3 separate regions of the Homo sapiens genome follow, and all the other regions are linked to region 1. Evidence: promoter capture Hi-C in 16 types of primary human blood cells and fetal thymus (Javierre and others, 2016). All regions are on one chromosome and are shown on one strand. Each heading gives the region's core, a stretch centred on a gene start or on the middle of the fragment in contact. The rest is flanking DNA. Distances are from core to core; before and after follow the strand shown. Region 1 holds the start of C3orf62 (chromosome 3 open reading frame 62). Region 2 overlaps TCTA (T cell leukemia translocation altered). Region 3 overlaps USP19 (ubiquitin specific peptidase 19).

What was found. Contacts are between HindIII fragments. The CHiCAGO score rates a contact against its expected background, and 5 or more counts as called.
Region 2: a contact is called between a fragment that was not itself captured here and the fragment with the promoter of C3orf62 in region 1, in 1 of 17 cell types (M2 macrophages). The highest score is 5.2, in M2 macrophages.
Region 3: a contact is called between a fragment that was not itself captured here and the fragment with the promoter of C3orf62 in region 1, in 1 of 17 cell types (M0 macrophages). The highest score is 5.2, in M0 macrophages.

What each region holds. Positions count from the first base shown.
Region 1 is chr3:49,275,314-49,279,368 of GRCh38, reverse strand. C3orf62 (chromosome 3 open reading frame 62) reads left to right here and starts at 2,137. Exons shown (of 3, transcript NM_198562.3): 1 at 2,137-2,942. The coding sequence starts at 2,497. USP4 (ubiquitin specific peptidase 4) reads left to right here. Exons shown (of 22, transcript NM_003363.4): 21 at 467-555; 22 at 918-2,225. The coding sequence ends at 1,076. RefSeq lists a silencer at 2,114-2,313 and an enhancer at 2,454-2,523. The HindIII fragment of the contact is 9,716 bases long and covers 1-4,055 here.
Region 2 is chr3:49,414,091-49,418,499 of GRCh38, reverse strand. TCTA (T cell leukemia translocation altered) reads right to left here. Exons shown (of 3, transcript NM_022171.3): 3 at 2,024-3,680. The coding sequence ends at 3,638. It overlaps AMT (aminomethyltransferase), which reads left to right. Exons shown (of 9, transcript NM_000481.4): 8 at 527-682; 9 at 782-1,722. The coding sequence ends at 960. Among named protein-coding and RNA genes, the nearest start is that of TCTA, 3.9 kb to the right of the region's middle. RefSeq lists enhancers at 124-842, 2,269-2,478. The HindIII fragment of the contact is 564 bases long and covers 1,241-1,804 here.
Region 3 is chr3:49,110,200-49,114,384 of GRCh38, reverse strand. It overlaps USP19 (ubiquitin specific peptidase 19), which reads left to right. Exons shown (of 27, transcript NM_001199161.2): 16 at 101-211; 17 at 292-393; 18 at 1,756-1,896; 19 at 1,983-2,101; 20 at 2,337-2,474; 21 at 2,572-2,885; 22 at 3,020-3,130; 23 at 3,219-3,435; 24 at 3,522-3,674; 25 at 3,781-3,941; 26 at 4,023-4,185. Among named protein-coding and RNA genes, the nearest start is that of QARS1, 7.5 kb to the right of the region's middle. The HindIII fragment of the contact is 801 bases long and covers 2,196-2,996 here.

The sequences.
Region 1 (4,055 bases), core at 888-3,387:
TATTCTGTAGGCTCCCGAGGCACTAAGCATTCTGTTGATGTTAGTAGCCACCTGCCTAGATGCAATGGGGGAGACTGACTTGGCATGTCCTTGTGAGAGCTATTGTTTTGCTTAAATCTTAGAAGTTTCAGCTCCTTTTATGGGTTCCCTGGTTTTGGATTATTGCACATAGCCATCCTGAAGATTGGCACTGAATAGCTCTGTTTTTTCTATTAGTTTCCCAAAATTATAGTTTAAAATCTTGGTCCCTGACAGCTCCATTTTTAGCCTTTTGATCCTTTTTGAGAAGGAACAGATTAGAAAAGAAGGTGAGTTGTTTTTTGGTTGTTAAGACACACACTGTAAACTTTTTTAATTTCAGGGGTTTTGTTTTGGGGATTTTTGTGTTTATTTAGTGCAAGCCTAATAAGCTAGCCAGATTAATTCTCTGGAGACCGCTAGAGTATTTTCTTTGTTGACTTGGCAGACACTGCATATGCGAAGAACAAACTGAATGGTAAATGGTATTACTTTGATGATAGCAACGTGTCCCTGGCCTCTGAGGATCAGATAGTGGTGAGTAGGCCATGATATGTGGTTCTTCCTCATGTCGTTATGGATTAAAGCTGGGAAGAGCCTCTATCAGGCTAGTTGGTTATTTCATCATCCTGATGTGATAGTGGGAGCTAGGTGTGACAGAGCTGGCTGGCATTCCTTCAGGGACCTTCATAAATGAGAAGCTCAGCTCTCCTCAGAGTTCTCTGCACAAGGCTCCTTCCATTTCCTGCTGCCTGGCAGGGGCAGCCATCCTCAGGTGGAAGGGTCTCCTCTGTGTGGATATGGCAGATCCTTGAGGGTTTTGGACAGCTAGAGAAAAGCTGGGGAAAATGGGTGATTTTTCCAAGCACTGAATGGTCTTTCCCCCTCTTGTATTTCAGACTAAAGCAGCTTATGTGCTATTTTACCAACGTCGAGATGATGAATTTTATAAGACACCTTCACTTAGCAGTTCTGGTTCCTCTGATGGAGGGACACGACCAAGCAGCTCTCAGCAGGGCTTTGGGGATGATGAGGCTTGCAGCATGGACACCAACTAATGCTGACTCCACGATCCTGCCACCCTGTAGCGCCAGTGTAATCCCCCAGGAGAACATCTTTGACACTCTGCAGACTGCTAGTGTTCTGTCTAAAAACCAGACAAGGAAATACCCTTCTTTTATGAGCAGAAGGAAACAAAAAAAAAAAAAGAAGACCGTTTACCTAGAAGAAGCTATGTCAAGAGGCTGAATTATTTTTATTTTTAAACAGGTGGTGAGAAATTTCTGTGAAACCTGTGAAGCTGAAAAGGGGGTGGGATGGGGGTACTCAATGGAGTATGTCTGATGGATCCCGAAGAATGGAGAGGAACACAGGCGCTGAGTATGGAGCAGCCTGGAGACCCACCCCACCTGCAGGGCTGCCCTGAGCGCCTGGATTTCTGGTTCTGATGCCAATACTAGTCACCCCAAGTAGTCTGCTCACAGTAACCCAAACCTCAAGTAAACTCCCCTTTCCCTCGCTATGTGCACTGATATGGGTTTATAATTTTCTGAAAGTTACCCACTGAAGCCCATTTCTCCGTTGAGTCATCTTGTAATTTCCAGCTTTCTCCCCGCTAAGGAAGATATCTAGTGTTGGGGATCCTGGCCCCTCAACCTCCTGTGGAACCCAGCAGTTCTGTTATATCCCCTGCTACCCTAGATGAATTAAGACGGTTAAATACTGTGTGGAACTTTTATTAGATAACACACTTTTTATTAGATAACGCTTAAAGGAAGTCAGTACATAAAACTGCCCGGTGCTGTGTCCCGTCTAGTTGTTTCCATGTTGGCTTGAGAACAGAAATCTTTGTGGGAGTTAGCCGGGAAAGGGCTCCAGTTCATGGCGATTTAGGGTAGTAATACATTTTGGTGTTACCCAGATGCTTTCTAGAACGGGTTCTTTCCTCATCCCTGCCAAGACTCTTCCCGGGGCCCCCATTCGAAAGCCCCGTCCCCACTCCCACCGCGGGGCCAGCCGCTGCGTGTGGGCAAGGCCTTAAGGAACCGGACGTATGGGTCCGGGATTTTTTGTCTGACCTTCAACCTAATCCGTGGGGGTTTGGGGCCTGCGCGGGGCACGCGCATGCGATGACCGTTGGATGGGTCGGCGTCACTGCGCTGCGGGTGAGGACAAGGACGTGGCTGCCGACTCGCCAAAGGGGGGGTGCCGGTAGGGCCAGCGGCCTGGGAGCCGCGGTGGGGCGGGAGGCAGCGGCGGGGCGGGCCAGGAAGCTGTGGGAAGTGGGGCGGGGCGTCTTTGGGGCTTCTGGCAGATGGCGGGTTCCTCCGCGAGAGCCGAGAACCGCCTACTCCAGGAGGAAAGCCCGAGGGTTGTGGGTCCTGCTATAGCCAGGGCCAAGCTCCAGGAAATCGTGGCCATTCAGGGGTAGTTTGCAGCCTCATTTGTAACATTATTGTGTTGTCCTGTGCATTTCCAATGCATTACATAAAGACATGGTCGCTTTTAGGAGAAATGTCTGAAAAACTAAGAAGATGCAGAAAGGAACTGACTGCAGCCATTGACCGGGCCTTTGAAGGAGTTAGTTATTCCCAGGAGTGCACAGGCCAGCAGAGGCTGGAACTGAGCGCCGCGCCGCTCTCCTTCTCGCTGCCCGTGCACAGGCTCCTCTGCAGAAGACATCCTCTGGCAGCCTGCTCTTCTGCTGCTCCTTTTGCTGCTGTCCCATGTGCTCCTGAGAATGAGAACCCTGCCTTTGCAACAAACCATGCCCCGGTAAATGCAAAACCACATGCTCTGTGCCCCGAGAGAAAACCTCTAACCAGCAAGGAAAATGTATTGATGCATTCCTCCATTTTGGCACCTGAAAGAGAGTCTTGGAGAACTGCAGGAGAGGGGGAAAACTGGAGAAAAGAAAATTTAAGGTGATTCTAATTTTGATGGTTTAACAGCTACAATTAAGGGGATTCTTGTTTCTGAAAAAGTTGTTGAAGATCCTAGATTTAGTTCATGACAGTGCTCTTGCCTCCTCTTGGCAGCTCTGTGACTGCATTTGGGGAGTTGACAGACATTCTTCAGAATCTGGCCTAGGAAACAGTTATATTTTGTGTATATGTTCCAGTTGAGGGGCTAGTTGTCAATCGTTGATGTCAAAAACCAGTCATGGAAACCACTTTGCAGTACCCAAAGGGGTAGTGGATGTAAAATAACCGGGTTTTAAAAATAACCTTATTTTTTAAGTTGCAGAAACAAAAGTCTTAATTCCATCTTAACTCCTGTGTTTGAATCTGGACACTGGGGCCTTTGATACCCTCCTTTGCCCACATTAGGGAGAGGCTTAATTGAAGGCTGGGCCCTACTTCCTGGCTTCATCTTTGCCTCTGCTCCCCGCTCTTACCCCAGATCTTTTTGGACCATCACCAGGTCTCTTCTAGACTTTTTCTTCTCCCGAGTAACTTGAAATTGCCTGGTCCCAGGCACCTTGACTTGGAGAAGGGATGAATGTATGAGATGAAACTTCAGGCCGGGCGCGGTGGCTCACACTTGTAATCCCAGCACTTTGGGAGGCCGAGGCGGGCAGATCACGAGGTCAGGAGATCGAGACCATCCTGGCTAACACGGTGAAACTCTGTCTCTACTAAAAATACAAAAAATTAGCCGGGCGTGGTGGCGGGCGCCTGTAGTCCCAGCTACTCGGGAGGCTGAGGCAGGAGAATGGCATGAACCCGGGAGGCGGAGCTTGCAGTGAGCCGAGATCACGCCACTGCACTCCAGCCTGGGCGACAGAGCGAGACTCCGTATCAAAAAAAAAAAAAAAAAAAAAAAAAAAAACTTCAAAGTTCTGCCATCTTGGCTGCTTCATAGGAAGGGGATAAAGAGGCCATTTAATTGGTTCAACTCCACAAGAATTTTTTTCCTTTCAACTCCACAAATATTTATATTGGTACTCATAAGCAGTGCAGGCCTTGCCGGGTGTGGTGGCACGCCTGTAATCTCAGCACTTTGGGAGGCTGAGGTGGGTGGATCGCTTGAGGTCT
Region 2 (4,409 bases), core at 273-2,772, 140 kb before region 1:
AAAAAGAAACTGAAGATGCTGCCGGGCATGGTGGCTCACACCTGTAATCCCAGCACTTTGGGAGGCCAAGGTGGGTGGATCATGAGGTCAGGAATTCGAGAATAGCCTGGCCAACATGGTGAGACCCCGTCTCTACTGAAAATATAAAAATTAGCCAGGCGTGGTGGCGGGTGCCTGTTATCCCAGCTACTCGGGAGACTGAGGCAGGTAAATTGCTTGAACCTGGGAGGCAGAGTTTGCAGTGAGCTGAGATCGTGCCACTGCATTCTAGGCCTGGGCGACAGAGTGACTCCATCTCAAAAAAAAAAAAAAGAAACTGAAGACGCTCGGCAGGTGGGCAGCATGGCCTCCAGGGGATAGGAGGTGGTTGGTTGGCTGACGGCAGTGAAGGGAGGAATAGAGCCTGGAGTAGCCCAAGCAAAGGGGCCTTGATGCTAGATAGTGTGTTACTTGAGGACCTCATAAGGACCTCCTGTGGCCAGGGCTTCTATGGGCTGTGGCTTATGTCTCATGTGTCATTCTCCAGGGAAGCGCCGCCGAGCTGCTATGGACTTCCCTGGAGCCAAGGTCATTGTTCCCCAGCTGAAGGGCAGGGTGCAGCGGAGGCGTGTGGGGTTGATGTGTGAGGGGGCCCCCATGCGGGCACACAGTCCCATCCTGAACATGGAGGGTACCAAGATTGGTAGGTGGACCAGGGAAGCTGGGAAACCCTTGTCTCTTCCCAGGAGGGTGGGGGCACTGGCAGGGTGGTGCTGATGCGTGGCTTATGCTTGCTTGACAGGTACTGTGACTAGTGGCTGCCCCTCCCCCTCTCTGAAGAAGAATGTGGCGATGGGTTATGTGCCCTGCGAGTACAGTCGTCCAGGGACAATGCTGCTGGTAGAGGTGCGGCGGAAGCAGCAGATGGCTGTAGTCAGCAAGATGCCCTTTGTGCCCACAAACTACTATACCCTCAAGTGAAGCTGGCTCAGGGTGGGGCTGTCCCTTCCAGGAGTTTTGCCCCTACAAGGGGTTAGTCAAGAAGCTGAGGCAGAACTCACTGGGGGTGGGCAGTTAAGGTGGAGGCTGATTCTAATTGTCTGGTTGAGGGGCCACACCACCTATTCCCCCCACCTAACTCATGCCATTCCAGCTTCCTTCAGGACCCTGCTTCTGAGTGACGGACCAGCTCACACAATGTCTTGTTTCAGTCCATGATCCCACTGACCTACTCTTGCCTGCTGGAGGGTAATGAGAAGCTTTGGTTCTGCCATCTCTCCCACTCTGCCAGGTGCTGGCTGTGGAGCAAAGGCTCACCTTTGTGGAGAGGATAAAACCTGCCCAACCTACCTCACCATGGTTTTTCACATTGCAAAGGGTAATAACATGGGCAGTGCGGACTTAGGCTACCCCCTCCAGTTTGCTTTCCGTAAATGCAAATTGTCCTTACTGCAAGTCAGGAATGATTGCTGACTCACAGTAGGGCTGCTATGCCTGTGTGTAAACTTGGGGATGGCTGAGGGAACATAGACTCACTCTTCCACATTCCCAAGTTGGTCTAGTGTGCTGCCCAGTAGCAAACCATGGCAGACTCACCACCTATTCTGAGTTCCAGGGCTGCTGTAGGGCAGGGTGGGCTTCCTCCCAGACTTGCCTTACCCTGGGCTGATCTTTGCCCCTGGTATGCATTAATGGACTCCACTGAATCCTGAAAAAAAAATTAAACTTCCTTCTTACTTGCCAGTCTCTAGCTTCATTGTTCTCTGTTCACAGGGTTCCTGAAATGCCAACCCAATGCCTGCCTTCCTGGCCTCCAAGACAAGCTTGGAATAGGTTCTCCTTGAAAGGGGCCAGTCTATAAAAATGGAGATATTGCCCCTGTTGGGCACCCCATCCCTGCTCCTCCAGGGAGCTGCATCACCTCTCCCCTCCCTGCAAGTTATTGCATCTGGGTCCCAAGGGGCAACAGCTTCCAGGATGTTCCCTCTCTCACTGCCCCTGTGCATGCACACCCTTGTTCTGTCTGAATAACCACAACAACCGATGCACTTCCGTGTTTAATAAGCCACATCCTCAGTTGAGCCTGGGGTGAAATGTGAGATCCTGACTCTGTGCAGTAGTATTAGTGGGTGGGCCAGGGGCTGTGAATAACATCATCCTCAGTACAGCTGCAATTCCAGGGCCCCTCTACCACAAAGATGGCTTAAGCAAAGGCAGCCAGATGGAAGTATGATATCCAACAGGAAGGAAGTAGGCAGGGGTCACTAAAGTGGCTGGTGGCCCAGCAGATGGAAACAGAAGTATGGCCCCGAGGGAAGGAGGCAGGTCCAGGGCTACAGTGCTTTCAGGTACTGGTGTTTCTATAGGGGCATTTGCCACCCACATCTTTGGAAACTCCCCTGGCCTATTGTGACATGGCAGGGCTGCCTGGTTCTTGAAGGTAGAGAAAATGCTAGTGGGGAGGAGCTGAGCCTGTGACGTGCATTTGTACCAGGTCCAGATGGGAAATGATGAGGCTGCAGGCTATGATGGGGCCACTGTGCACTAAATGCTTGGTACCATCCTATGAGGGGACAAGGTGCAGACCCACATTCCCATAGGCACTTAAGCAGTGGTGGATAGGAGGCTACCCCAGGGGTTCAGCTGTCCTTCAGGTAATCAGCTTACCCCCAAGAAGGACTGAGAGGAATATGAGTAGGACAGTTGGCAGATGACAATTTCCTTTGCCTGGCTCACGGGAGAAGTCTGGTTGGGCCAGGTATGTGGGTGTTTGGTGCCTCCATCTGGATAGTGCCAGCAGGTACACCACCCTGCCTTATACCTGAATGGCCAGCTAAATAACCATAGAGCTTAAGGTCTGGCTCAGGTCAGGATTCCCTGGCTCCTTGCCAACAAAGCAAAACCAGAGATTCAGAAAACTCAGGGCCTAGGAGAAAACAGACCTGCCTTACAAACCCCAGAGCTGGTCAACCTCAGGCTTCCTCTCAGGAAAAAAATTTTTTTTTTGAGATGGGTCTTGCTCTGTTGCCCAGGCTGGAGTACAACGGCGCAATCTTGGCTCACTGCAACCTCTGCCTCCCAGGTTCAAGCAAATCTCCTGCTTCAGCCTCCTGAGTAGCTGGGATTACTGGTGTGTGCCACCACACCCGGCTAATTTTTGTATTTTTAGTAGAGATGGGGTTTTCACCATGTTGGTCAGGCTGGTCTCGAACTCCTGACCTCGTGATCTGCCTGCCTCAGCCTCCCAAAGTGTTGGGATTACAGGCGTGAGCCACCATGCCTGGCCAACTCAGGAAAAATTTTTATGGGGTCACATCTTGGGGATGGAAGAGGGACAGGAAAAGAAACCTAAGACAAAAGAACTGATGGTCTTCCCAACCCAGAGGCTTCCTGAGTTATCACCCCTGAGAGAGGAAGAACACAATCTCTCTCCTTAAGGCACCCAGATAAGAGTACAGGCAAACTCTTCACTTGCCCAGTGCCTGGGTGAGGGAGCAGGCTTAAGAGGCAGAAGAGGCCCAGCCCTGTAGGCACTGGGTACTCCCTGCTACCAACCCTGAACCCCCGGCAGTTGTCCCTGAGGTCTGGGGAGTAGCAGAACCCAGTGTAGAAGCCAGCAGACCCAGTGATGCCCTTGGAGACCCTCTGCTGCCTTCCCTTATTCTCTGTGGGTTTTGAGAGGTTCGTTTGCTGCCATTTCCCTGAAAGTGATGGAGAGAGAGAAGAGAGAGTGGTTATTCCATGGGCAGAACAGTTGCTGAAATTGGCTCTCCCAAGCTCCTTCTTGGGGGCTGAGCTAGGCTCAGTAAGGTCACATAACAATCTAGACCTCTCTGCTGGTCTCCCACAGCCCACCCTGGGCCCAGCACCTTCTCCCTGCAGACTCATTCTTCTTCCTGGTTCTCCATGTTAGTACGGCATTGCCATCCTTCTCTAGTTTTTTTATTCTTTTTATTTATTACTATTGTTATTACTTTTCTTTTTTTGAGACGGAGTTTCACTCTTGTTGCCCAGGTTGGGGTGCAATGGCAAGATCTCAGCTCACTGCAGCCTCCACCTCCCGGGTTCAAGCAATTTTCCTGCCTCAGCCTCCCAAGTAGCTGGGATTACAGGCGCCCGCCACCACACCCAGCTAGTTTTTGTATTTTTAGTGAAGACGGGGTTTCGCCATGTTGGCCAGGCTGGTCTCAAACTCCTGGCCTCAGGTGATCTACCCTCCTCAGTCTCCCAAAGTGCTAGGAACAGGCGTGAGCCACCATGCCCGGCCTGTTATTTTTTTTGAGACAGAGTCTCACTCTGATGCCCAGTCTGGAGTGCAGTGGCGTGATCTGGGCTCACTGCAACCTCTGCCTCCTGGGTTCAAGTGATTCTCATGCCTCAGCCTCCCGAGTAGCTGGGATTACAGGCGTATGCCACCATGCCCAGCTAAT
Region 3 (4,185 bases), core at 1,347-3,846, 170 kb after region 1:
CCCTGAGAGCCATCAGAAGCCCCGGAATGGGCTCTCTGAGCATGAGCATCTTATCTCCCACTCTGTGTGCAGCTACCCAGTGCCACCTCTACATCCACAGGTCTCCATCACTTTTGACCCGTTTCTTTATCTGCCGGTGCCCTTGCCACAAAAGCAAAAGGTTCTCCCTGTCTTTTATTTTGCCCGAGAGCCCCACAGCAAGCCCATCAAGGTGAGGAGTAAGCCCCTACCCTCTGGGCTGTTCTAGAGAACGTGGCCCACCTCCCTCACTGACTGCCCTTTTTGCCACAGTTCCTGGTGAGCGTCAGCAAGGAGAACTCCACTGCGAGCGAAGTATTGGACTCCCTCTCTCAGAGTGTTCATGTGAAGCCTGAGAACCTGCGTTTGGCGGAGGTATCTTTGTCCTTCCTTGGGCTATCACATGTGTGGATGTGTGTGTGTACTCACCACAGACGTGTGTACAGTCATTGGCATCTACAGACATACACATGGGCTGGGCACAGTGGCTCATGCCTGTAGTCCCAGCACTTTGTGAGGCCGAGGTGGGCAGATCACTTGAGCCCAGGAGTTTGGGACCAGCCTGGGCAACTTGGTGAAACACTGTCTCTACAAGAAATAAAATTAGCTGGGCATGGTGGTACGTGTTATAGTCCCAGCTACTTGGGAGGCTGAGGCAAGAGGCTCACTTGAGCCCGGGATGTGGAGGTTGCAGTGAGCAGAGATTGCACCACAGCACTCCAGCCTGGGTGACAGAGTGAGACTCTGTCTCAAAAATAAATAAATAAATAGATAAAAAAATAAAAATAGGGCCAGGCGTGGTGGCTCATGCCTGTAATCCCAGCTCTTTGGGAGGCCAAGGCTGATGGATCACAAGGTCAGGAGATCCAGACCACCCTGGCTTACATGGTGAAACCCCACCTCTACTAAAAATACAGGAAAAGTTAGCCGGGCGTGGTGGCACATGTCTGTAGTCCCAGCTGCTCAGGAGGCTGAGGCAGGAGAATCGCTTGAACCTGGGAGGCAGAGGTTGCAGTGAGCCGAGATCGCGCCACTGCACTCCAGCCTGGGTGACAGAGTGAGACTCTGTCTCAAAAATAAAATAAAATAAAATAAAAATAGACATACACATGAGTATGCCTGTGACTGTACAAAAACAGGCGATGTGCTGTTATTTTTTCTGTGCAACAGAAGTGCCCTCAGTTCCTAGCCATTATCAGGGTTTATTCCCCTTTGTGGTGGTGGATCCCAACTGCATTTCCCTTTTTAGACAAGGAGCTTGAGCTGCAGGACTATCCCTATGTTCGCTCTGCCTCTCCCTCTATCCTGCTGCTCTCTCCTTTTATCCCAGTTGTGTGTGCTAGCTCTCCCCAGGGGTTCCTAGCCTTTAGCCTGACAGTGTTGGTTTTCTTAGGGGTAAGAGTGGGGAGGAGGCTCTTTGAATGTGGACCCTCCATGATAATATGTTACAGTCTTATAAGGCTATGCTAGTTATAGCAGGGCAGAGTCCCTCAGTGTGGAGAGCTGGTGTGGTTGATATCTGCCTCACACCTGGTCTTTCAGGCCCTCTGATGCACCAGGCTCCTTATGGCATTGGGCACTGAGACAGGTGCCAGCAGAGGCATAAGCCTATTTGGGCCTACAGACCTCACCACTGCCCACATAGACCCAAGGCAGGGCCAAGCCTTCTTAAACTCTGGGGCAGGGCTAGGGAAAGGGCTTATCCTCACGTGGGATCTGTGTGTTCTCTGTCCCCAGGTAATTAAGAATCGTTTTCATCGTGTGTTCCTACCCTCCCACTCACTGGACACTGTGTCCCCATCTGATACGCTCCTCTGCTTTGAGCTGCTATCCTCAGAGTTGGCTAAGGAGCGGGTAGTGGTGCTAGAGGTGCAACAGGTGAGTGGGGGCCAACCTGATGGCACAGCGCCCTGGTGGGTGGGGCACTTCTTCCTGGTCTTGCTGAGCCAGACGACCCACCCTAGCGCCCCCAGGTGCCCAGCGTCCCCATCTCCAAGTGTGCAGCCTGCCAGCGGAAGCAACAGTCGGAGGATGAAAAGCTGAAGCGCTGTACCCGGTGCTACCGTGTGGGCTACTGCAACCAGTGAGGACCCCCATGGTCTCCCCTACCCTTTCTTTCCACCTTCCATGTGCCACCCTGCTCCTTCCCTTCACACCAAGGCACATATGCTTAAGCTTTCTACTTGCCACCCTACTTTACCAGGCTCTGGGGGAGGCAGGGCTGGCGTACCCAGTTCCCAGGGACTATGACTAGCCCCCAGTATGGAGTCATAGGAGATGGGGCTAAGGGCCTATCCTTGTCTTCCTCTTCCCGTCAGGCTCTGCCAGAAAACCCACTGGCCTGACCACAAGGGCCTCTGCCGACCTGAGAACATTGGCTACCCCTTCCTGGTCAGTGTACCTGCCTCACGCCTCACTTATGCCCGCCTCGCTCAGTTGCTAGAGGGCTATGCCCGGTAAGTGCCCAGTGGTTGGACTAGAGTGGTGTAGGTGGGGGCAGAGGTGCTAGATGGGCTGGTCAGGAGTCTTACTTGCGTTGTTCTCTGTTGCCAGGTACTCTGTGAGTGTATTCCAGCCACCCTTTCAGCCAGGCCGCATGGCCTTGGAGTCTCAGAGCCCTGGCTGCACCACACTGCTCTCCACAGGTTCCCTGGAGGCTGGGGACAGCGAGAGAGACCCCATTCAGCCACCTGAGCTCCAGCTGGTGACCCCTATGGCTGAGGGGGACACAGGGCTTCCCCGGGTGTGGGCAGCCCCTGACCGGGGTCCTGTGCCCAGCACCAGTGGAATTTCTTCTGAGATGCTGGCCAGTGGGCCCATTGAGGTTGGCTCCTTGCCAGCTGGCGAGAGGGTGTCCCGACCCGAAGGTAAGATCCAGTGAAAGGCTCTAGAAGCTGGGGAGGAGGATAAGGGAGGATGGAGGGGGCTGTTGTTTAGGGCCTGGTGGGCCTGGTGAGGCCCTGATGGGCAGGGAAGCTTTGATTATCATGTTCTCACACAGCTGCTGTGCCTGGGTACCAGCATCCAAGTGAAGCTATGAATGCCCACACACCCCAGTTCTTCATCTATAAAATTGATTCATCCAACCGAGAGCAGCGGCTAGAGGACAAAGGTGTCTGAGGCTGTGGGTGGGAGCCATGGGGTGGGTTGAGCTGGCTGTTCTCCACAGCTGCATGACCTCTCTCCCTGCGAATCTCCAGGAGACACCCCACTGGAGCTGGGTGACGACTGTAGCCTGGCTCTCGTCTGGCGGAACAATGAGCGCTTGCAGGAGTTTGTGTTGGTAGCCTCCAAGGAGCTGGAATGTGCTGAGGATCCAGGCTCTGCCGGTGAGGCTGCCCGGGCCGGCCACTTCACCCTGGACCAGTGCCTCAACCTCTTCACACGGCCTGAGGTGCTGGCACCCGAGGAGGCCTGGTGAGAACAGAGCAGCAAGTAGATAAGGGGGCAGGATGGAGAAGAGAGAGACTTGCTGGTCCTGACCCAATCTCTGTCCCCACCAGGTACTGCCCACAGTGCAAACAGCACCGTGAGGCCTCCAAGCAGCTGTTGCTATGGCGCCTGCCAAATGTTCTCATCGTGCAGCTCAAGCGCTTCTCCTTTCGTAGTTTTATCTGGCGTGACAAGATCAATGACTTGGTGGAGTTCCCTGTTAGGTAAGCAGTGGACCTTGGTAACTGTGGGTGGGGTGTGAGGACCAGGATGGGCATCCTGAGCGCCTGTTGCCTGTCTCACCCCTCCCTGACTGGACCTGACCTGCAGGAACCTGGACCTGAGCAAGTTCTGCATTGGTCAGAAAGAGGAGCAGCTGCCCAGCTACGATCTATATGCTGTCATCAACCACTATGGAGGCATGATTGGTGGCCACTACACTGCCTGTGCACGCCTGCCCAATGATCGTAGCAGTCAGCGCAGTGACGTGGGTGAGGGCACACACAGCCAGCAGGATAGGTGGTAGGGGTGGTGGTGCAGACTTTGTTCACACTCTTCCCACCCTGCTGTAGGCTGGCGCTTGTTTGATGACAGCACAGTGACAACGGTAGACGAGAGCCAGGTTGTGACGCGTTATGCCTATGTACTCTTCTACCGCCGGCGGAACTCTCCTGTGGAGAGGCCCCCCAGGGCAGGTCACTCTGAGCACCACCCAGACCTAGGCCCTGCAGCTGA